Regions from separate parts of the Homo sapiens genome. Here all the other regions are linked to region 2. Evidence: promoter capture Hi-C in 16 types of primary human blood cells and fetal thymus (Javierre and others, 2016). All regions are on one chromosome and are shown on one strand. The core of a region is centred on a gene start or on the middle of the fragment in contact, and the rest is flanking DNA. Distances in the headings are between cores, read along the strand shown. Region 1 overlaps MTHFD2L (methylenetetrahydrofolate dehydrogenase (NADP+ dependent) 2 like). Region 2 holds the start of CXCL8 (C-X-C motif chemokine ligand 8). Region 3 has its middle 14 kb from the start of CXCL3. Region 4 has its middle 27 kb from the start of CXCL2. Region 5 has its middle 17 kb from the start of CXCL5. Region 6 has its middle 4.9 kb from the start of CXCL3. Region 7 holds the start of CXCL5 (C-X-C motif chemokine ligand 5).

Region 1 (2,965 bases), core at 195-2,694, 420 kb after region 2:
TCATATATAATGAAAAGGTATTTTACTTTTTATTGATTTGCAGATGTAATTTCTAGTAAAATTACTTCAAGATGTGAATAGGGTACTTGGGGTATGAAACAAATTTTTTTAAAGAGGTCATAAACTTAACACTTGCAGGTATTCATTTATTTTAATAACACACTTCAAAAGACTCCCTATACTGGTGATTGGTTTTATTCCCTATGGAATTTTGCCCTGTTTTTGGGGGGTTTCATTTCTATTGTACAAACTCAAGACATCGAAGATATGCCCTAAGATATAAAGCAATTAAACTGTATGTTAGGGCCTGGGTAGAGCTTGGAATTGTTAATCATTCTATTAGGATTTTTCGTCTTTTTTTGTTTGTTTGTTTTGTTTTTTGTTTGAGGCAGAGTCTTGCTCTGTCACCCAGGCTGGAGTGCAATAGCACGATCTTGGCTCACTGCAAACTCTGCCTCCCGGGTTCATGCCATTCTCCTGCCTCAGTCTCCCAAGTAGCTGGGACTACAGGCGCCCGCCACCACGCCCGGCTAATTTTTTGTATTTTTAGTAGGGACGGGGTTTCACCGTGTTAGCCAGGATGCGTCTTGATCTCCTGACTTCGTGATCCGCCCGCCTCAGCCTCCCAAAGTGCTGGGATTACAGGCGTGAGCCACCATGCCTGGCCAGGTTTTTTCAACATTATAGAGATAAAATGGTTCATTGCAGCTCTAGTTGAAGTCGTGAATAAAGATGAGATTGAAACTAAGATATGGATTTGCCAAGTATACGAATTAAATAAACTCTTGATCTTGACTAGGTTTTATTTGTTGGTAAGCTACTTTTTTGTGGAAGAGTATTTTGATACATAGAAATAATCCTCCCCCTTTGTTATTTTGCTCTAGTTTATTAAATAAATCATTTGATTCTAATAAGCGTAGATAAGGTGGTTAGTTTATTTTCTGGAAGTACAAGTAAACAAGCCCATGGAAACAGCACTAAGTGCTGAAGACTTTCTGCTCTCATAATGTTTCTGGTTATCGAAATATGTCTCCATCTGTAATTTAGCAGAAACTAAGAGAAAGAGCCACTTTTGCAAACCAGCCCATGAACTTTTAGCCAAATCCTCTTATGTAATGTAAGGTCAACAAGAGAGTATTCCCATTATATAGATGAAGAAATTGCATGCCGTTGAGAGAAGCTAAGTGACTTGCCTAACTTTATTATTGCTACTAATGGTAACCCAGAGCTCTGATGCTCAGGACTTCTAATTTCAGGTGAGTAGTTTGTACTACATAGTGCTGCCCTGCTACTCACTAGCCACCACCTCCCTTCTTTAATTTTTGCCTCCTGATGAAGCCACATTTCGTGGCTAGCCCAGCAGTAGGCTGGGCTTTTGGAAGGGAGGGCACCTTTTCTTGCCTTTAGGGGAAGGTCATTTCTGCCTTTGTGGGAAACCACCTGAGCAAGTAATGACAGGGCACATCATGTAAACAATATCTAAGGGGTCAAATGGATTTTATTTTTGATATGCATTAATGGCAAGGTCACTATGTAATTTTTTTGGCCAAACTAGCACATTTTTTAGAGTAAAAAGGGGCACGAATGTAATGAAAATTATATATTTGGAATATCTATTGGCTTACAAATATATTAGTGAACTTATAGAATAGTTTCAGACCATTTTCAAAATTAACATTTTAAAAGATAATTTATATCCTTATGTGTTAAAATAAAAATTTATATTACATGAACATTCAGCATGAACAATTATTCCTGGTGCATATTCACATGCTTGAATCAGTTTCTTAGCTGTATCTTTTAACACCTTGATCCTGATAATTTTCTGAAAAAAGTTAATAAGATCTTATGCTTTGTTTATTTTTTTTGAGACAGAGTCTTTCTCTGTCACCCAGGCTGAGTGCAATGGTGTGATCTTGGCTCACTGCAACCTCCGCCTCCTGGGTTCAAGTGATTCTCCTGCCTCAACCTCCCGAGTAGCTGGGACTACAGGTGCATGCCACCACGCCCAGCTAATTTTTCTATTTTTAGTAGAGACGGGGTTTCACCATATTGGTCAGGCTGGTCTTGAACTCCTGACCTCGTGATCCACCCGCCTCGGCCCCTCAAAGTGCTGGAATTACAGGCGTGAGCCACTAGGCCCGGCCCTTGTGCTTAATTTTAAAATTAAATTTTCTGCAATTTTCTTAACAGTTGCAAATAGAATCTTTGCTTTAGACAATGGTTATTTTAGTTTTAAAGGTACTGTCTCTATAGATGCTGAAACACCACATAAACTGCTAAATGGAACAGTCTTAATTCTACATTTTGCACATTGAAATGGGAAGATATTTTAGCCTAAATATTTTCACAGGTGCTATGTTGGTGTATCTTTTCAAAGTACTTTTCTTTGACAAATATTTAGATAAAAGAAATAAGTTGTTTTTGTGTATGATTTTAAAAATAGTTTACCATATTTAGATAGGGGAAAATTAAAGTTTTTCTCAATTGTATTCCAATGTTTTACAAAATGGTAATTTATTCCAGGAAATTTTATTCAACAAAAAATATGAGTTCCATCAGAAGATTATTCTCAGACATTGAACTATTTAAAATTGCTATTATAGATGTATTTATTTACTAATTCTGCTGTATACAAAGTTCCACAAACTAGCTAGCTTGAAACAGCAGAAATCTGTTTTCACACTGGAAACAGTGGAAGGAGGCTGGAAGTCTGAAATCAAAGTATCTGTAGGCCCACACTCTGTCGACTAGCTTCTGGTTATTGCCAGCAGTCCTTGGTGTTCCTAAGGAGTTTGCAGCTGCATAACTCCAGTCTTTGCCTCTGTTGTTAAATGGTTGTCTTCCCTCTCTGTCTTCACTTCCCTTTTTATGTGTCTCTGTGTCTTCTCTTGTAAGGACAGAAATTAAAATTACTTGTGCATTGTTTGAGCTATGATTTTTTAAATTAGTTTACTTCTTCCCT
Region 2 (2,726 bases), core at 225-2,724:
TTATTTTATCCTCAAGTCTTAGGTTGGTTGGAGAAAGATAACAAAAAGAAACATGATTGTGCAGAAACAGACAAACCTTTTTGGAAAGCATTTGAAAATGGCATTCCCCCTCCACAGTGTGTTCACAGTGTGGGCAAATTCACTGCTCTGTCGTACTTTCTGAAAATGAAGAACTGTTACACCAAGGTGAATTATTTATAAATTATGTACTTGCCCAGAAGCGAACAGACTTTTACTATCATAAGAACCCTTCCTTGGTGCTCTTTATCTACAGAATCCAAGACCTTTCAAGAAAGGTCTTGGATTCTTTTCTTCAGGACACTAGGACATAAAGCCACCTTTTTATGATTTGTTGAAATTTCTCACTCCATCCCTTTTGCTAGTGATCATGGGTCCTCAGAGGTCAGACTTGGTGTCCTTGGATAAAGAGCATGAAGCAACAGTGGCTGAACCAGAGTTGGAACCCAGATGCTCTTTCCACTAAGCATACAACTTTCCATTAGATAACACCTCCCTCCCACCCCAACCAAGCAGCTCCAGTGCACCACTTTCTGGAGCATAAACATACCTTAACTTTACAACTTGAGTGGCCTTGAATACTGTTCCTATCTGGAATGTGCTGTTCTCTTTCATCTTCCTCTATTGAAGCCCTCCTATTCCTCAATGCCTTGCTCCAACTGCCTTTGGAAGATTCTGCTCTTATGCCTCCACTGGAATTAATGTCTTAGTACCACTTGTCTATTCTGCTATATAGTCAGTCCTTACATTGCTTTCTTCTTCTGATAGACCAAACTCTTTAAGGACAAGTACCTAGTCTTATCTATTTCTAGATCCCCCACATTACTCAGAAAGTTACTCCATAAATGTTTGTGGAACTGATTTCTATGTGAAGCACATGTGCCCCTTCACTCTGTTAACATGCATTAGAAAACTAAATCTTTTGAAAAGTTGTAGTATGCCCCCTAAGAGCAGTAACAGTTCCTAGAAACTCTCTAAAATGCTTAGAAAAAGATTTATTTTAAATTACCTCCCCAATAAAATGATTGGCTGGCTTATCTTCACCATCATGATAGCATCTGTAATTAACTGAAAAAAAATAATTATGCCATTAAAAGAAAATCATCCATGATCTTGTTCTAACACCTGCCACTCTAGTACTATATCTGTCACATGGTACTATGATAAAGTTATCTAGAAATAAAAAAGCATACAATTGATAATTCACCAAATTGTGGAGCTTCAGTATTTTAAATGTATATTAAAATTAAATTATTTTAAAGATCAAAGAAAACTTTCGTCATACTCCGTATTTGATAAGGAACAAATAGGAAGTGTGATGACTCAGGTTTGCCCTGAGGGGATGGGCCATCAGTTGCAAATCGTGGAATTTCCTCTGACATAATGAAAAGATGAGGGTGCATAAGTTCTCTAGTAGGGTGATGATATAAAAAGCCACCGGAGCACTCCATAAGGCACAAACTTTCAGAGACAGCAGAGCACACAAGCTTCTAGGACAAGAGCCAGGAAGAAACCACCGGAAGGAACCATCTCACTGTGTGTAAACATGACTTCCAAGCTGGCCGTGGCTCTCTTGGCAGCCTTCCTGATTTCTGCAGCTCTGTGTGAAGGTAAGCACATCTTTCTGACCTACAGCGTTTTCCTATGTCTAAATGTGATCCTTAGATAGCAAAGCTATTCTTGATGCTTTGGTAACAAACATCCTTTTTATTCAGAAACAGAATATAATCTTAGCAGTCAATTAATGTTAAATTGAAGATTTAGAAAAAACTATATATAACACTTAGGAAAGTATAAAGTTTGATCAATATAGATATTCTGCTTTTATAATTTATACCATGTAGCATGCATATATTTAACGTAAATAAGTAATTTATAGTATGTCCTATTGAGAACCACGGTTACCTATATTATGTATTAATATTGAGTTGAGCAAGGTAACTCAGACAATTCCACTCCTTGTAGTATTTCATTGACAAGCCTCAGATTTGTCATTAATTCCTGTCTGGTTTAAAGATACCCTGATTATAGACCAGGCATGTATAACTTATTTATATATTTCTGTTAATTCTTTCTGAAGGCAATTTCTATGCTGGAGAGTCTTAGCTTGCCTACTATAAATAACACTGTGGTATCACAGAGGATTATGCAATATTGACCAGATAAAAATACCATGAAGATGTTGATATTGTACAAAAAGAACTCTAACTCTTTATATAGGAAGTCGTTCAATGTTGTCAGTTATGACTGTTTTTTAAAACAAAGAACTAACTGAGGTCAAGGGCTAGGAGAATATTCAGGAATGAGTTCACTAGAAACATGATGCCTTCCATAGTCTCCAAATAATCATATTGGAATTAGAAAGGAAGTAGCTGGCAGAGCTGTGCCTGTTGATAAAATCAATCCTTAATCACTTTTTCCCCCAACAGGTGCAGTTTTGCCAAGGAGTGCTAAAGAACTTAGATGTCAGTGCATAAAGACATACTCCAAACCTTTCCACCCCAAATTTATCAAAGAACTGAGAGTGATTGAGAGTGGACCACACTGCGCCAACACAGAAATTATGTAAGTACTTTAAAAAAGATTAGATATTTTGTTTTAGCAAACTTAAAATTAAGGAAGGTGGAAATATTTAGGAAAGTTCCAGGTGTTAGGATTACAGTAGTAAATGAAACAAAACAAAATAAAAATATTTGTCTACATGACAT
Region 3 (2,776 bases), core at 85-2,584, 310 kb after region 2:
TATGAGGCTATGTTCCTGTCATATTGTTAACTATTTTTTGCTTGTTTTATATATTCTTTGTTCCTTTCTTTTTGTCTTATAGTTTTCTCTTGTGGATTGGTGGATTTCTGTAGTGTTATCATTTGCATCCTTTCCCTTCCTCTTGTGTATGATTGCTTCACCAGTGAGTTTTATAGTTTAGTGTGTTTTCATGATGGTAAATGTCACCCTTTCACTTCTAGCTTTAGAATTCCTTTGAGTATTTCTTTCAGAGCTAGTCTAGTGGTAATGAAATCCTTCAGCATTTGTTTCTCTGTGAATGACTTTATCTCACCTTCATTTATAAAGGAAAATTTTGCTAGATGTAGTATTCTTGGGTGGAAGATTTTTTCCTCCAACATTTTGAGTATATCTTCCCATTCTCTTCTGATGTGGAAGTATTATGTTGAGAAATCCACTGTTAGTCTGATGGGGTTTTCTTTATAGGTAGCTGAACACTTTTCTCTTGCTGTTTCTAGAATTTGTTTTTAACTTTGACTTTAGACACCCATAGGGAAAACCTGTTTGCATTTTATCTGTCTGGGCACATTGAACCACCTGAATCTGAATGTCTAAATCTCTTGCTAGATTTGGAAATTTTCATCTATTTTTGCATTGAATAGATTTTCTAATCTTTTCTTTGTTTCTTCACCCTCAGGTATACTGATAATTTGTTTATTTTTTCATTTTATATTGTCTCAAATATCACAAAGCCTTTGCTCTTTCTTTATTATGTTTTCTTTATTTTTATCTAACTGAATTATTTCAAAAGGCCTGTCTTCAAATTTTAACATTTTTTCTTCTGCTTGAGCTAGCCTATTATTGACACTTTTAAACGTATTTTATATTTCCTTTAATGAATTCTTAAGTTCTAAGCTTTTTATTTGGTTTGTATTAAAAATATCTACCTTTTCAGTAAATTTATCATTTGCATTCTGATTTTTAAAAATTTATTTCTATTGTCTTTCAGAATTCTCGAAAATATCACTGAGTATCCTTAAAAAATCAATATTTTGAATTCCTTATTTGGAACTTTGAAAATTTCTTTTTGATCAAGATATATGCTAGAGAATTAATGTTTTCCTTTTGAGGTGTTATATTTTCTTGCTTTTTTATGTTTCCTGTATCCTTATATTGATTTCTGGGTATGTGGTATAAAAGGAAATTTTCCTATTTTGGAATTTTCTTTAGTAGGGGATAACTTTTTTCTGAAGATGTATTTATGGTGTTTGGTGGGTCAAGTACTTTGGCTTTGATTCTGGGTGCATGGAGTACCATAGTCTGTGTGATTACTTTGGCTGTAAACATCATTAGTTGTATCTGTAATGTCCCCTATACTACACTAGGTGTACAATAGGTTATACCATCTAGATTTATGTAAGTGCATACTACGGTGTTCGAACAATGACAAAATCACCTAATGAGGCATTTCTCAGAATGTAGTCCTATTATTAAGTACTGCATTTTTGAGCATCTGCATCCAACCCAATAGCTGTTGCGGAACTTGCAAGTGGTGGAGCCAGGTTAGCCCATTATTCTGACTGGAGAGGATGTGCTTTTAGCTGGGTCATAACTATCTCATAAAATTGTTTATTCCTGCATGCAAAACACTTTATATGCTTGGCATATTAAAAGTGATTAATAAATTTGAACTATTATCATGCTATATAAAGAATGATACAGATCATAACTTGTGAATTTTGTTGGCCATATTGTGAAATACCAAAGTGTGAAACAAAACGAGAAGGGAAGAAGTAAAGCTTTTATCCACAGCAATTATGTTCAAATTAATAATATATAACAACAAATAAATAGAAATTGTTATTCTTATGTTAATACTTTTGTAGTAACAAAATTAATTTTGTTAATGAAAATTTTGTAGGTATAAATTTTAGGGGTTAAGAAATGAATGGAAATTTTGTTGATTAAAAAAAGAATTAGTAGTCTAGTAAAGGTTAAGTTCTACATTGTACTTACTTACAAGGTCAATACTAATGCTAGAATTGTAACCATGTAGATGTTAACTAAATGCTAATATATACAAACATGTCAGGGTAAAACATTTAACCTCAAGAATTTTTTTTCCTTTCTTTCTTTCTTGTTTCAAAAAATATCACAGGTTTTTTAATGGGATACATTAATTCATTTCCATCATCTATTTTTTATTCTACCAGGGGTAAATATATACACTTTAAAGTAAAAAAGCAGAGTTCACAAGACTTACATTCTACAACTTTATTATTTTTAGGGTTTGAAGGCTAAAACAAACATCAGAAGAAACTTTCAGAAGATGTTTTAAGCAAGACATAATAGCACTAAGACACTAAAAGACCCTATTAAGTTCCTGAACATACTAACAAAAATTTATTGAGCAAGTATTTTGCGCTGGGCTCTGTGTGATTCCTAATATCATTAACCATTATTAAATCTGTTTATTATCATCAGCATGTCTAGTCTTACAGTAGAGTGGGGTTGGAAAAATCAACAAAGATGTGTTTCAATAGAAATTTTCAAATAAATAAAGGGAAAGTGCACTACAATGTTTAGCCAAGGATTGGGGGTAAAACATATATTATATATTGAAGCATGGCTTGCTTATTTTCACCTTCTTTCTGTTATCTTTTATCCAGCATTCTCAGAATAAAATGAGATTTTTGAAACAGAATAGAACTTAGATCAAAATTTTAATACAGTAAGAATAAGTATCCTGGATAAATAAGAATCTGAGAAAGTCAAGACTTCAAAATCCTCCCCTTCC
Region 4 (2,775 bases), core at 195-2,694, 330 kb after region 2:
TATCTGCTTACAATTCCTAGAGTTCCATGAGGATAAAACAGAGGGTTTTCCCAAAACTGGGTCTGTGGCTCCTCCTCGGTTTTTCCCAAGAAGTCCCAGGCTGTCGGAAATTACCTTAGATCCTCTCTTGTGGGCATCAGCAGTGGAAAGAAGAAAGACTGGAGAAACGATTCTGATGATTGAGAGGAAACAAAAATGATTGTTCTCAAAAGAACAAGATGTAAGAAAAGAATAAGCATAAAGGCTGTTAAAACATACGTATAGCTTGGATATAGATTTTTAATGAAGCTGACTTTGAACCATAGGAACCTTTGTTTTTTTCCAAATCTTTAAAAAAAAAAATTTCACCAGCATCTCCAGGATTGTATCATCTTAGCACACTCTGAGCCAGGGGTGAACATTCCAGGGTTTAAGAAAACAACAAGATTCAATTATAAAAATTAATAATAATACAATGATAAATCCTTAGCAAATAACCAATACAAGGATAGCCACAAAATATCATACATGATGAAATCTTGAAAGTAATCCCTTTAAAGGCCAAAACAAGAAAAGAGTGTATATTATTATTGCAGACATCTCAGCAAAGCTAAAGAGATAAATAAAAGGCATAAGTTTTCCAAAAAAGGAAACTAAACTGTCATTATCCTCAGGTGATATGACTACTCTAGTTAAATGTTGGTTACAAAACTACTACAAAATTTTATGTTTAAACACTAATAGATGGAAAGTTATATTTTATAAAGATACCCTTTACAATAACATCAAACAATATAGAGTGGCAAGAAATCTTTTTTTATAATAAAAAATATGGAATGACTTTATGGAGAAAATCATGAAACTTTAAAGACATTAAATAAGGCCTCAACAAATTGGCAGTTAGTTTGTATTCTTAAAATGGAAAACTCAGCAGGATAAAGATGTCAATAATTTAAAAATTAATTTATAACTTCAAAGAAATTCCATTCAAAATTATAATTTAATTCAGTGCAAATTTGCAAGCTATTTCTTAGATTTATATGAAAGAGCAGAAGTCTAAGAAAAGACAGGCTACTCTTGAACAACATGAAAGAATTTTCCATCCCAGATATTAAAAATTATTATAAAATATTAATAATGAAGACTGTGTATATGTATAGACAAATTGATCAATGGGACAGAAAAGAGACATTAGAAACATTCCTTCACTTGCAGGACTTCAGTTGCAAAACTCAATTTATGGCAGAAATAGCATTGTCGATCAGTAGGGAAATGATGTTTTATTAAATAGGGCTGTAACAATTAATGAGTCATGTGGAAAAATAAAATAAAATTGGATAATTCCATCACATAATACAAAAATAGATTCCATAAACAGTCATGTCTTAAACACAAAGAAAAAATTATGAAAACTTTAGAAGATAATATAGAAGAATATTTTTATGAACTGTAAAGGGAAGTTTTTTTTTCTTTTTGAAAGAAGACACCAAAGTTGCTAATCAGAAAAGAGCATATTGCTAAATTCAAGTAGAATAATAATACAAACTTACGTTCACTGGAGACACTATAAAAAGAAAGACTATATGAGTTGTAAATTGGAAAACTAGTTTTTTACTTATAAAATTGACAAGGTTCTAACATCCAGAATATATAAAGAACACCTGTGTGCCAATGGGAACAAGATAATATACAAATAAGAAAAGTAAAAAAAAGAATACAAATTTTACAAAATAGAGAACACAAATGCTCCTAAGCATATAAAAATATTCAATCTAATTAATAATAAAGAGATGAAAATTAAAAGAATAGCATGGTACCATTACATACTCATCAGATTGACAATACTAGGTAGTGACCAGTATGTGCAACAACAGATAATTTTATGCAGGAAGTAGTGTCAATTGGTACAGCTTCTTTGTGATACCACATGGCATTAACTGGTAAGATTTATGACATGCAAAGCCTAAACACAGCAAGTAATTCCTAGAGAAACTCTTACATAACATGAACCAGGAAACACATAAAGAATGTCAGCAATAGTCAAAATCTGAAAAGAACTCAAGTGCGCTCCAACAAAGGATTGGATAAATGAATTTTGCATTTACTTACTTCATATTCCTACAGTGGAATTACTAAAATTAAATGAACAGCTAAACATATCGAAATCATGGGTTGCAAAACATAATGTTAAATAATAGAATCAAGTCACAGAACAATACATTCAGCATTATTCCATTGATCTGAAGTTTAAGAGCAGGCAAAATACATAATTGTTTAAGGATTCATACCTAGATGGTAAAACTACAAAGAAAAGCAAGAAACAACACAATTCAAAATAGTGATTAATTCTTGGAAAGGGATGGGTCTATGATTTGAGAGATGTATTTGTTTGTTATGTCTGCCATAATAGTATACCACATACTGGGTGGCTTAAACAACAGAAGTATATTTTCTCACAGTTCTGAAGGCTGAACATCCAAGGTTAAGGTCCTGGAAGGTTTGGTTTCTCCTAAGACCTCCCTTCCTGGCTTGCAGATGGCTATCTTCTCACTGTCTTCACATGGTTACCCCACAGTCTGTGTGTTGTCTGTGCTCTAATTTCTTTTTAGGAAGACACCAGTCAAATTGAATTCAGGACCATGCTAATGAACTCCACTTAACCTGGTTACCTCTGTAAAGACTTCATTTCCACATACAGTCTTATTCTGAGGTACTAGGGATTAGGGATTCAACATATGAATTTAGGAAATGCACAGTTCAGCCTATAACAAGAGGTTCATACACAGAGGCTTCTGG
Region 5 (2,820 bases), core at 265-2,764, 280 kb after region 2:
CAGGAGGGACCAATATGGACCCTTTAGTCTTCTTAGTTTGTAAAACACCTTAGTTCACATTTGACAGTCATGGGAAGGATTGCCACCACTGATTCTATCTGGGAATAGTGATGTCTGAGATGGAGATATGTTTGGCTCTTCTCTCCTCCTCTGTGCCTAAAATATCATTATGAGCCCAAAATACACAAAATCTTAAACCTAGCACATTTTAGAGACTGTAAGAAGCTAGGTGGACATTTGGTATGTGACATGTTATTAAGTTAAAAAGTCAGTTATTTCCTAGAAATGACACATGAATTTATATTCTCATTGTTTTCTAATGCCTTAGTTTCCAGGTGGTTGAAACCAAGTTCCCCCAGTTATGTCTGATTCATCGGAACCCAGGAATGCACCACCTGGAGATCACCTGCTGCGGTAGTGTGTTTCGTCCTTGCCTCCATCCTGCCCTTTCATCACCATTCCTTGCCTCAGTGTCTAGGTCAACACTCCCTTGTGTTTAGGATTGAACAGCCCCAGAGGCTTGTCCTCCTCATTTATTCTCAAAGAAACCTCATTCATTTCATTCTTTCTCCTCTTTTTATCACCAAAAGGCCTATCCGGGGAGTGAATCCTCTCAGCTGCAAGTCTGGGACGGGACTTCATCCTACTAGAGCCCTAGCTGATTGCTTGATAGTTCTTTGGTTTACACCACAGTTGACATCCATAACAGGAAGTGAGGTTAGGCCTTTTTCTCTGTGGATGTACATACTTAGAGGGAGCCTTTCCAAGGTGTTCACTCCACCCTTCTTTTCTCTTTCTGAGCAAAATCTTTCCCTAGAGTCCCATATCAGATATGATGTAAACCTTGAATTTTACAGTGAAATGTTTGCTTCAAATTTAACCATGATACTGATCTGCTTCAGTGTCTGACTTAAAGATTCATTTGTTACTGGTCAATGCATCTAACATTGAGTTTTACGGAAAACCCCTGATACTTAATGACAGAGGTAAGAATGAGCTGCCTGTTGATTTGCAGTATGAGGTGTTAGAGTGCCAAATATGAGATCTCCAGTAAAAACAATATTAATGCCCAATTATGCATTTCCATGACTGAGATCAGCCATTTCTCAGAGAAGTTTTACTAATCTGGCTACTTTAGCTCTGTTGATACCTGTGATACAAATCATAGTATTTAACATTTTGGTAAATACTGAAATTGTGAATTCGCTCCAAATCCATTCAGGCATGTTTATGAATCATAGAAGCTCTCTAAACAGTATGATTGGATGTGAGCTAATATTTAGGAGATTTACCGACCTATTAAAAGTATGTAAGTATATTGGAGAAGTGGGGAAAAATAGAAACAAGAGAGAAAATGCATTACAATTTGTTCTAACAGAATTTTTGATCTCTTCACTCCAAGTATTGTGAGTGAATGTAAAAATATAATTCAATATCTACAAAATGCTATAATTCATCTGTTGTGTCTCCAAATGCCAGGGTTGTAAACAGATTTCTCACTTGTGCCTTTCTTTGTCATTTGATAGCCATGTTGACTAAAGTGAGTTGCTTCCCTCTGGCAATCATTGCTGATGTTGAATAAACTTGTTCTTAACCTTTGTTATGCTGCTGGGACACACAACACTGGATAATGGCATAAAAGACTAACAGGATGTGGTATAACTTGACGCACTAAATCCTCTGCTAAATCACACTTTTTGTTTTACTCAACTGTCTTCCTCTTTTCATTTGGCATTTCATCTGATTAATCTTACCTCTGTTCATGAAATATAAAGGTCTAGCTAGGTCAACACTAGAAAGATTATAGTTGTTGGTATTGTACTTGCCCTTTACTCTAAATAAGTATTTTAACAGACAAGAAAGCTCTTCCTTATCTAAACATTTGTGGCAGAATAAGCTCAATGTCTTGAGTTTTCTAAATCTCTTTTTTTCTTTTTCTCTCATAATTCCACACTAGCCCACTGCACCTTATCATATATAATAACAACTAATATTTCATGACAACTACTTTGTTCCAAGTGTGTTTTATGAATTATATTTACCTAATCCTCCCAACAGCTATTTTTGCCCATTTTTCTGGATAAGATTATAGAGTTTAAGAGAGGTTGAGTGACTTGGCTGAAGTCACGCAGGAAATTGATGGAGCTGGAATTCAAAACCAGGCCATCTGACAGCAGAGCCCATACAGGTAACCACTGCCTGCTATTCTTCATTGCTTCTCCTAAGGTTGGCTTTGCATGTCCACAGCTTCACCTACCAAGAAGAGGGATGGGAATTTGATCTTTTTCCAATGACAAGCAGACATGTCAGAGAAGCCACTGTGCACTTTCCAGCATCCTGCCACCCATCTGGTTCTCTGTGCCAAGCTCGTCCACCATCTCCTTTCTCTGTATACCATTCAATCATTCCTCAAAACTTTTTTTGAGTTTCTACTAATACCCAGCAATGCTAAAGACACTGAAGATATAGCTATAAGCCAAAGATTTTCTCTTGATGAGTAATTATTTTATTAGAGCTGACAATTGACAAATAAGAAAAAAAAGATTGTGTGTGTGGATGTATATAGGTTTACATATGTATTTTATATAGAGTGATCTGAGAAAGACTCTAACACAATGATATTTGAGCAAAACCCTTAAAGAAGTAAAGGAAAAATTATGCAGCTCTGGAAAAAAAATATTCCAGGCATAGAGAAAAACAGGTTCAAATATTCCAAGGCAGGAGTTTGCTTGGTATATTTAAGTAGCAATGTGGCTGAGCGGTATTAACAAGTAGTCAGGGACTGTAATATTGGAGGGTTGTGCCTTACAGGGTGTGATG
Region 6 (3,074 bases), core at 468-2,967, 290 kb after region 2:
TAAAGTAAAGCCAGCACAGAGAAAGGCAGTTAGACCTGCAGTGAGACTGGTTATTAAAGAGAATTTTTGGACTCTAGGATCCAGGTTTATCTCATCTACACAGCAGTCAAATAAAGTAATGCTACTCTCTATTTCAAAGGGTTGTTATGATGAATGTGTCAATATTTATAAAACACCAATATATTTCATAAGGAAATGAAATAATTCCCATTTTCAGTAAGCCAATTTGAGTTGGTTTTTTTAACTGTCTGTACTGACTGCTTGAGTTATCTTTCTAACCAGAAGGGCATTTCAACTTGAATTTAATTCCTCTCTTCATTTGATTCAGCATTTGTATTGATCATTTTCCCAGCATTGTAACATAGGAATGAAATTAGGTGCCATAGATACAAAGACAATTAATATAGAATCTGCTACCTTCTAACTCTCAACACAATACAGGAGATGAATGTACAAATAGAAGATTTTAGAAGGGCCTGGTAAATACCATGACAAACTATGCACAAAGTATTAGGAGTAAGGATGAATATCTCATACAACTCTTATGGGTTAATGAGTGGGTTTCTGAGAGGTGTTACAGAGGTTTTCCTACAAGAAATCGTTACTTATGTGAGTTTTAAAGGATGGAGAGTTTTCCAAGTAGATGGGACAACACTGAGGAATGGAAAACGCTCCAGTAGGAGACAACCAAGTAATCAAAGGCATGAAGATTGGAAAGTCCATGGAAGTCCTAGAAGCAGCAAGTGACTCAGGTAGATGGAGTTCATCCTGTGGGCAGGGAGAGGAGAGCAAGTGAGGCAGGAGGGGCGATCAGGATTCCACATGGGAGGCCATGTGCCTGTAGGATCCTGCTTCTCTGTCAGTTTGGATGTTACCATAGCTGTGCAGCTTTTACGTGTGTCTCATGGTGCTTCCATGTCCCTTGTGGACAGATTCCTTTATTGACTATCTACCACAGGGAGAGTGGGAAGGCAAGAGTAACCTATAGGTTCAATGTATGTGTAGAAAATGAGGAATGGTGGATATTAAATTCAAAAGACATTTACTAGATGCATACAACACAAAAGGGATTGTGGTGAGTTTTGTAAAAGATAGTGGATAAAGCCAAAACTTAAACATGAAATTCTTCTTTGATTCTTAACTTGCACACTTCCTTCTGCAACATTGCTAGTCTTCTAATTCTGCAGTAAAGACATACTGATGATTTCAACAAACTATAATTATTTAACTTTATTGGAAATAACACCAAACACCATCTAATATATAGATGTGAACATCATTCCAAAACTTTTAAAAATTAGCTTTTAGTATAAGCTTTATATTTGCCTTTTCTTGAGATTGTTGTTTAAACTTTTGTGGAAGGTATTGAGTAATTAAATTACATTATGCTCATATCATGTAATCCAAGAAATATAGGAATGCCAAAATTACAAAAGAATATGTCAGAAAAAATACAGGAAATAAGCAAACATCTCTATGGAAACATTTTTATCATACTAGATGATTATATTGGTCATCATGATGACTCTGGTATTATGGAAGCACAATGTAGGAAGTTGAGATGAGTTATAAACCACAGCAAACATATCACACACAGTGTATGAATACATAGTTCAACTAAGACAGTTACAAATCATCCTAAAAAACTTTGATGATCAGAAAAGGTCTTCTGTAATGTTTTAACATTTTGAAATGTATTGATACATTTTTTATGACTCATCTATGTTCTCTTTGGAAAGACAAATGTGATTTATGCAATTGCTGGGTAAATTGCCAATATATGTCAGTCAAACCAAGTTGGTTGCTTATGTTGCTTAACACTTCTATACTGCTACTAAATTTGTGCTGCTTTACATATTAAGTGTTGAAAGAGTTTGTTAGAATCTGTAACTATGATTATATATCTGTCTATTGCTCTTTTTTGATCTCTTCATTTTGCTTTATGTGTGTGTGTGAATTTTTTTTTTCTTTAGAGACAAGGCCTTGCTCTGTCACCCAGGCTGCAGTGCGGTGGCATGATCATAGCTCACTGCAGCTTCAGACTCATGGGCTCAGTTGATTCTCCCACCTCAGCCTCACAAATAGTTTATATAATTTGATAATGTGTTTCTAAGTTCATAAAAGCTTAGGAATGTTTTGTCTCTTGTTTAGTTAACCCCTTTTTATTTTTAACAGTCTTTTTTATCTCCAAGACTATTTCTTTCCTTAAGGCATAATATATTAATTAGGCCTTCATTAGTATATCAATTTTTAATAAATATAATTTATATGAATAGCATATTAATAGTTAAGTAATAAATATATTAATATATCCAGGTCAGGTTTCAATATAGTAATATATCCATGTCAGCCCATTTGTATGTGATATAACACTATTAATTCTTTTAATTTCAAGCAACCTGGTGCCCAATTTGTTTTTACTTTTATTGTATTTTTATAATTGACACATAATTACTGTGCATATTGATGGGGTACATAGTAATGTTTCTATATATAATGTATAGTGAAGAGATCAGGGTAATTAGCATATCCGTCATTTCAAATATTTATCATTTATTTGTGTGGGAACATTTGATATCCTTCTAGCTGTTTGAAACTATTACTTTTAACTATAGGCATCCTACAGTGGTATAAAACACTAGAATTTGTTCCTCCTATCTAGATATAATTTAAAGTGTGTCTCTTTTAAGAAGCATAAACATGTCATATTTATGTAGTCTGATAATCTTTGACTTTTAATTGGAGTGTTTATTCTGCTTAAATTTACTATAATTCTTAATATAGTTGTATCTAAGTCTACTATCTGCTATTATATTTGTCCTATCTTTTGAAAAATAAACTTTTAAATTTGGAATAATTTTAGACTCACAAAAAATTTGTGTGGGCACAGAGAGTTTCTATATCTGACCTTTAGCTCAGTGTCCCGTAATGTTGACATCTTACATACTTGTAGTATATTTGACAAAACTAAGAAATTAACATTGGTACATTGCTGTTAACTAAACTCTTGTCTTTATTCAGATTTCATCAATTTTCCAATAATGTCCTTTTTTCTATTCCAGGATCCAATTCAA
Region 7 (3,035 bases), core at 471-2,970, 260 kb after region 2:
TCCCGCTCGTCTTCTGCAATCCTCTAACCCAGGTTCTACTCTGTGAAAGGGGCCAAAGCTGTGAGTGGGGAGGGAACTTGCCCCAGCGTGGCCACCTTATATATAATTATATATTCTACCATAAATGCTGGCCTTCTTCAAATTATGATTTTGGAAAATCTAACCCATACAGAGGGATAAAAAATTGACATCCCTTGGACAACTTCTCCTTGTTTTTTTTTGTTTTGTTTTGTTTTTAACATTCCAAGCTCTCTCTGGTCCCCTATCCAAGGAGAAATGCTAGGGCCTCGAGGATGTCGCTATATATTTTTATAACTAAATGATAAATTTATATTCAAATTGTTTGAATACGTTTCCAAAACTTTCAGAGTACAAGTCATTGTTAAGTTTGCCTTTACTTTAAAAACTAAAAGAATACATTTCTATATAAACTAGCAGTCAGGAATTTGCCTGTTTTCTAGCTTCTTCATCTATCTAAAATATATATTTAGCTACCAGAATTATGGTACTCCTAATAAAATACTTAATAAATAGCATATAAAATCAAAGTTTAAAAGTAAATGATGGCAGTTTGCCATACTAAAAAGATAAAGAATGTCTAAAATTATAGGAAGATAAGATATTAGCCCTCATAGAACTTAAACTTTTAGAAATTCTGAATAAGGAAATATATTCTACATAGATAAGGTGTGAAACACTCAGCTTTCTAAAGTGAAATAATTAAATAGTATCCCACAATCAAGAGTAAGGAAATTCTCTAACATATTCCCCAAGAAACATTAAAATATTTCCTATTTCTTATAAAAGTGAAGATAACAGTGTATTTCCATCAACAGAATTCTTATGAAACATCATTTCCACATTAAATCCACAGCCTTCTCAGTTAATATCTTAAGGAATATTTCTTGGAAATATAATAGTCACCTACAATTCAAGACACTTTGAAAGATTAACAGCCAGTGATTCCTGGCTCACACTATAGTCAATTGCCAAAACTTCAATAGCATAGCAGATAAAATAACAGCAAATAGCAGAGGTACTATGCTAAACACTTCATTAGCTGAGCTGAAAGCTTAAGCGGCAAACATAGGTTTTCCTCACACTCTTCAAAGTGAGGAATCCAGGAAGAAAGCTAACTACTGGAAAAACAAATAAACAAACAACAACAAAATCTTTCCTTCTTGTCTTCCCTGGGTTCAGAGACCTCCAGAAAACTTCTCTGCTGAAGACTGGGAAACTTTTCCATGCGTGCTCATTTCTCTTAATCAGTTTTCCTTGTTTCCACTGTTGAGAAAAATGTTATATTAGTTTAACCATTTTTCACACTCCTTTCTACTCCACCCTTGTCAAAACTCAGCGTTTATGATGTTTGGTAAAAAAGGAGAATACAAAAATCAATAAAAGCAATGGGTAAACAAAAAACATAACTTAGTGACAAGCTGTGTGTAATTGCTCAAGTAATTACATGTAAGATTGGTATATTTTCCCAGGACAATCCAGAAAAACTTTCCCAATTCAACAACCTTTTAATTCTAAACATGAAAAGTGTTACTTAAATCGTACAGAGAATAAAGACCTTGTGAAGTCTATGGTCTCCCTAGATCAGATTTAGAAACCACAAAGATCAAAGTGACAAGTACCCGTCCAAAATTTTCTGGATGACTTTCTTTAGAAAAGGGGCTTCTGGATCAAGACAAATTTCCTTCCCGTTCTTCAGGGAGGCTCTGAAGGAAAGAAAAAGAAGATACACTCATGAGATACCAAGGTTGAAGACCCAGGCTGCGGGATTTCTCTCTTGCCAAGGTCACAGCGGACACAGCAGCACAGAACTTACACCACTTCCACCTTGGAGCACTGTGGGCCTATGGCGAACACTTGCAGATTACTGATCATTTTGGGATGAACTCCTTGCGTGGTCTGTAAACAAACGCAACGCAGCTCTCTCAACACAGCAGCGGCAGGACCAGCTGGGGAAGAAAGAGAGACACCCTTTATAGGGCAGGTTGCTGGGAGAGTTCCCTGGAACGCAGCGACCCCGCAGAGGCTGGGATGCACCTCTGTGCCCGAGTGCGAGTGCGTCCCGCGCGCCATGCGCTCTCACCGCTGGCGATGGGCCCTGGCTGCGTCAGCAGCAGCAGCAGCACCAACAGCGCGCACAAGGAGCTCGAAGGACCGGGGACACGGGCCGCGCGGCTGGACAGGAGGCTCATAGTGGTCAAGAGAGCGCTGCGAGCGGTCGCGGGTTCCTGAACTGGGTGGAGGAGCGGAGATTGGAGGAGCGAAGATTGGAGGATCCGGAGCACTGTGGCTTCCTCGTGCCTTCTGCACTCCTTTTATCTACACTCATCTCTCCCCACTGACAGGAAACTCAAGCTTTGGGATGCTGGGGAAATTCCCTGAACTCATGGGGCAGTGTGGAAAGAAGAGGTTGGGGGAGGGGGGCCAGACAATGGGAACTGGTGGGGAGGGTGGCCAGGAGGAGCTGCGTGCACCTCTACCGAGAGGGACGTTGTAACCCTGCTCCGCGGTGGAGGGAGCTGTGGCTCCAGCTAGAAGGGAGTAGCTATTCAGCAGGATTCAGCAGGGCCTCATGGCCTGTGCCAGAGCGGGCTAGGGATGCCGGCTTTTCTGAGGCACGCAGCCCTCTGGGAGATGCTCCTCCTCTCCTTCTAGAGAGAAAAGGTGGAACCAAAGTAACAGGAGCCTTGATTTGAGAAAAATTTCTGAAAGTCAATCCTTTCTAATTATTATTACTATTAATCAGGAAATGTTATTCATGTTTGAATTGCTATAAACTGAAAGTCCTTCCTGTCTTCCTTGCAGGCAGGTCATTCTAGGTTTCTTGAATGACTTTATGAATCTCTGGACTTCAACCAGCTTTGGAAGCCAAGATAACATGATAACAAGAGACCCTTGTCTCTTGCCACTTGAAGTCAGTGGCCTGAAAGGACCACTGAATTTTGTTAACTCCCCTACAGATCACCTACTTTGGTAAGTCCGCTTACTGAGAATTCTGTACTTGTAGTATATAGCAA

Evidence for each region. The method cuts DNA at HindIII sites, captures the fragments that hold promoters and counts their contacts. A CHiCAGO score of 5 or more calls a contact.
Region 1: a fragment that was not itself captured here is called in contact with the fragment with the promoter of CXCL8 in region 2 in 3 of 17 cell types (monocytes, megakaryocytes and neutrophils); the score reaches 7.7 in monocytes.
Region 3: a contact is called between a fragment that was not itself captured here and the fragment with the promoter of CXCL8 in region 2, in 7 of 17 cell types (megakaryocytes, neutrophils, monocytes and 4 more). The highest score is 19.9, in megakaryocytes.
Region 4: a fragment that was not itself captured here is called in contact with the fragment with the promoter of CXCL8 in region 2 in 6 of 17 cell types (neutrophils, monocytes, M2 macrophages and 3 more); the score reaches 10.1 in neutrophils.
Region 5: a fragment that was not itself captured here is called in contact with the fragment with the promoter of CXCL8 in region 2 in 6 of 17 cell types (neutrophils, M1 macrophages, M0 macrophages and 3 more); the score reaches 14.5 in neutrophils.
Region 6: a fragment that was not itself captured here is called in contact with the fragment with the promoter of CXCL8 in region 2 in 7 of 17 cell types (megakaryocytes, M1 macrophages, monocytes and 4 more); the score reaches 23.9 in megakaryocytes.
Region 7: a contact is called between a fragment that was not itself captured here and the fragment with the promoter of CXCL8 in region 2, in 3 of 17 cell types (megakaryocytes, neutrophils and M0 macrophages). The highest score is 12.0, in megakaryocytes.

Annotation. Positions count from the first base shown.
Region 1 is chr4:74,163,509-74,166,473 of GRCh38, forward strand. The region is part of intron 1 of MTHFD2L (methylenetetrahydrofolate dehydrogenase (NADP+ dependent) 2 like); the gene reads left to right. Among named protein-coding and RNA genes, the nearest start is that of MTHFD2L, 6.9 kb to the left of the region's middle. RefSeq lists an enhancer at 1,278-1,407. The HindIII fragment of the contact is 3,104 bases long and covers 1-2,965 here.
Region 2 is chr4:73,739,095-73,741,820 of GRCh38, forward strand. CXCL8 (C-X-C motif chemokine ligand 8) reads left to right here and starts at 1,475. Exons shown (of 4, transcript NM_000584.4): 1 at 1,475-1,628; 2 at 2,448-2,583. The coding sequence starts at 1,565. RefSeq lists a silencer at 1-232. The HindIII fragment of the contact is 2,023 bases long and covers 1-1,503 here.
Region 3 is chr4:74,051,222-74,053,997 of GRCh38, forward strand. No RefSeq gene overlaps it. Among named protein-coding and RNA genes, the nearest start is that of CXCL3, 14 kb to the left of the region's middle. The HindIII fragment of the contact is 884 bases long and covers 893-1,776 here.
Region 4 is chr4:74,071,048-74,073,822 of GRCh38, forward strand. No RefSeq gene overlaps it. Among named protein-coding and RNA genes, the nearest start is that of CXCL2, 27 kb to the right of the region's middle. The HindIII fragment of the contact is 2,937 bases long and covers 1-2,775 here.
Region 5 is chr4:74,014,620-74,017,439 of GRCh38, forward strand. No RefSeq gene overlaps it. Among named protein-coding and RNA genes, the nearest start is that of CXCL5, 17 kb to the left of the region's middle. The HindIII fragment of the contact is 4,022 bases long and covers 1-2,820 here.
Region 6 is chr4:74,032,289-74,035,362 of GRCh38, forward strand. No RefSeq gene overlaps it. Among named protein-coding and RNA genes, the nearest start is that of CXCL3, 4.9 kb to the right of the region's middle. The HindIII fragment of the contact is 810 bases long and covers 1,313-2,122 here.
Region 7 is chr4:73,996,372-73,999,406 of GRCh38, forward strand. CXCL5 (C-X-C motif chemokine ligand 5) reads right to left here and starts at 2,306. Exons shown (of 4, transcript NM_002994.5): 1 at 2,102-2,306; 2 at 1,835-1,967; 3 at 1,641-1,724; 4 at 1-1,284. The coding sequence starts at 2,210. The coding sequence ends at 1,266. It overlaps LOC124900715 (a long non-coding RNA gene), which reads left to right and starts at 1,857. Exons shown (of 2, transcript XR_007058140.1): 1 at 1,857-2,991. The HindIII fragment of the contact is 1,301 bases long and covers 1,071-2,371 here.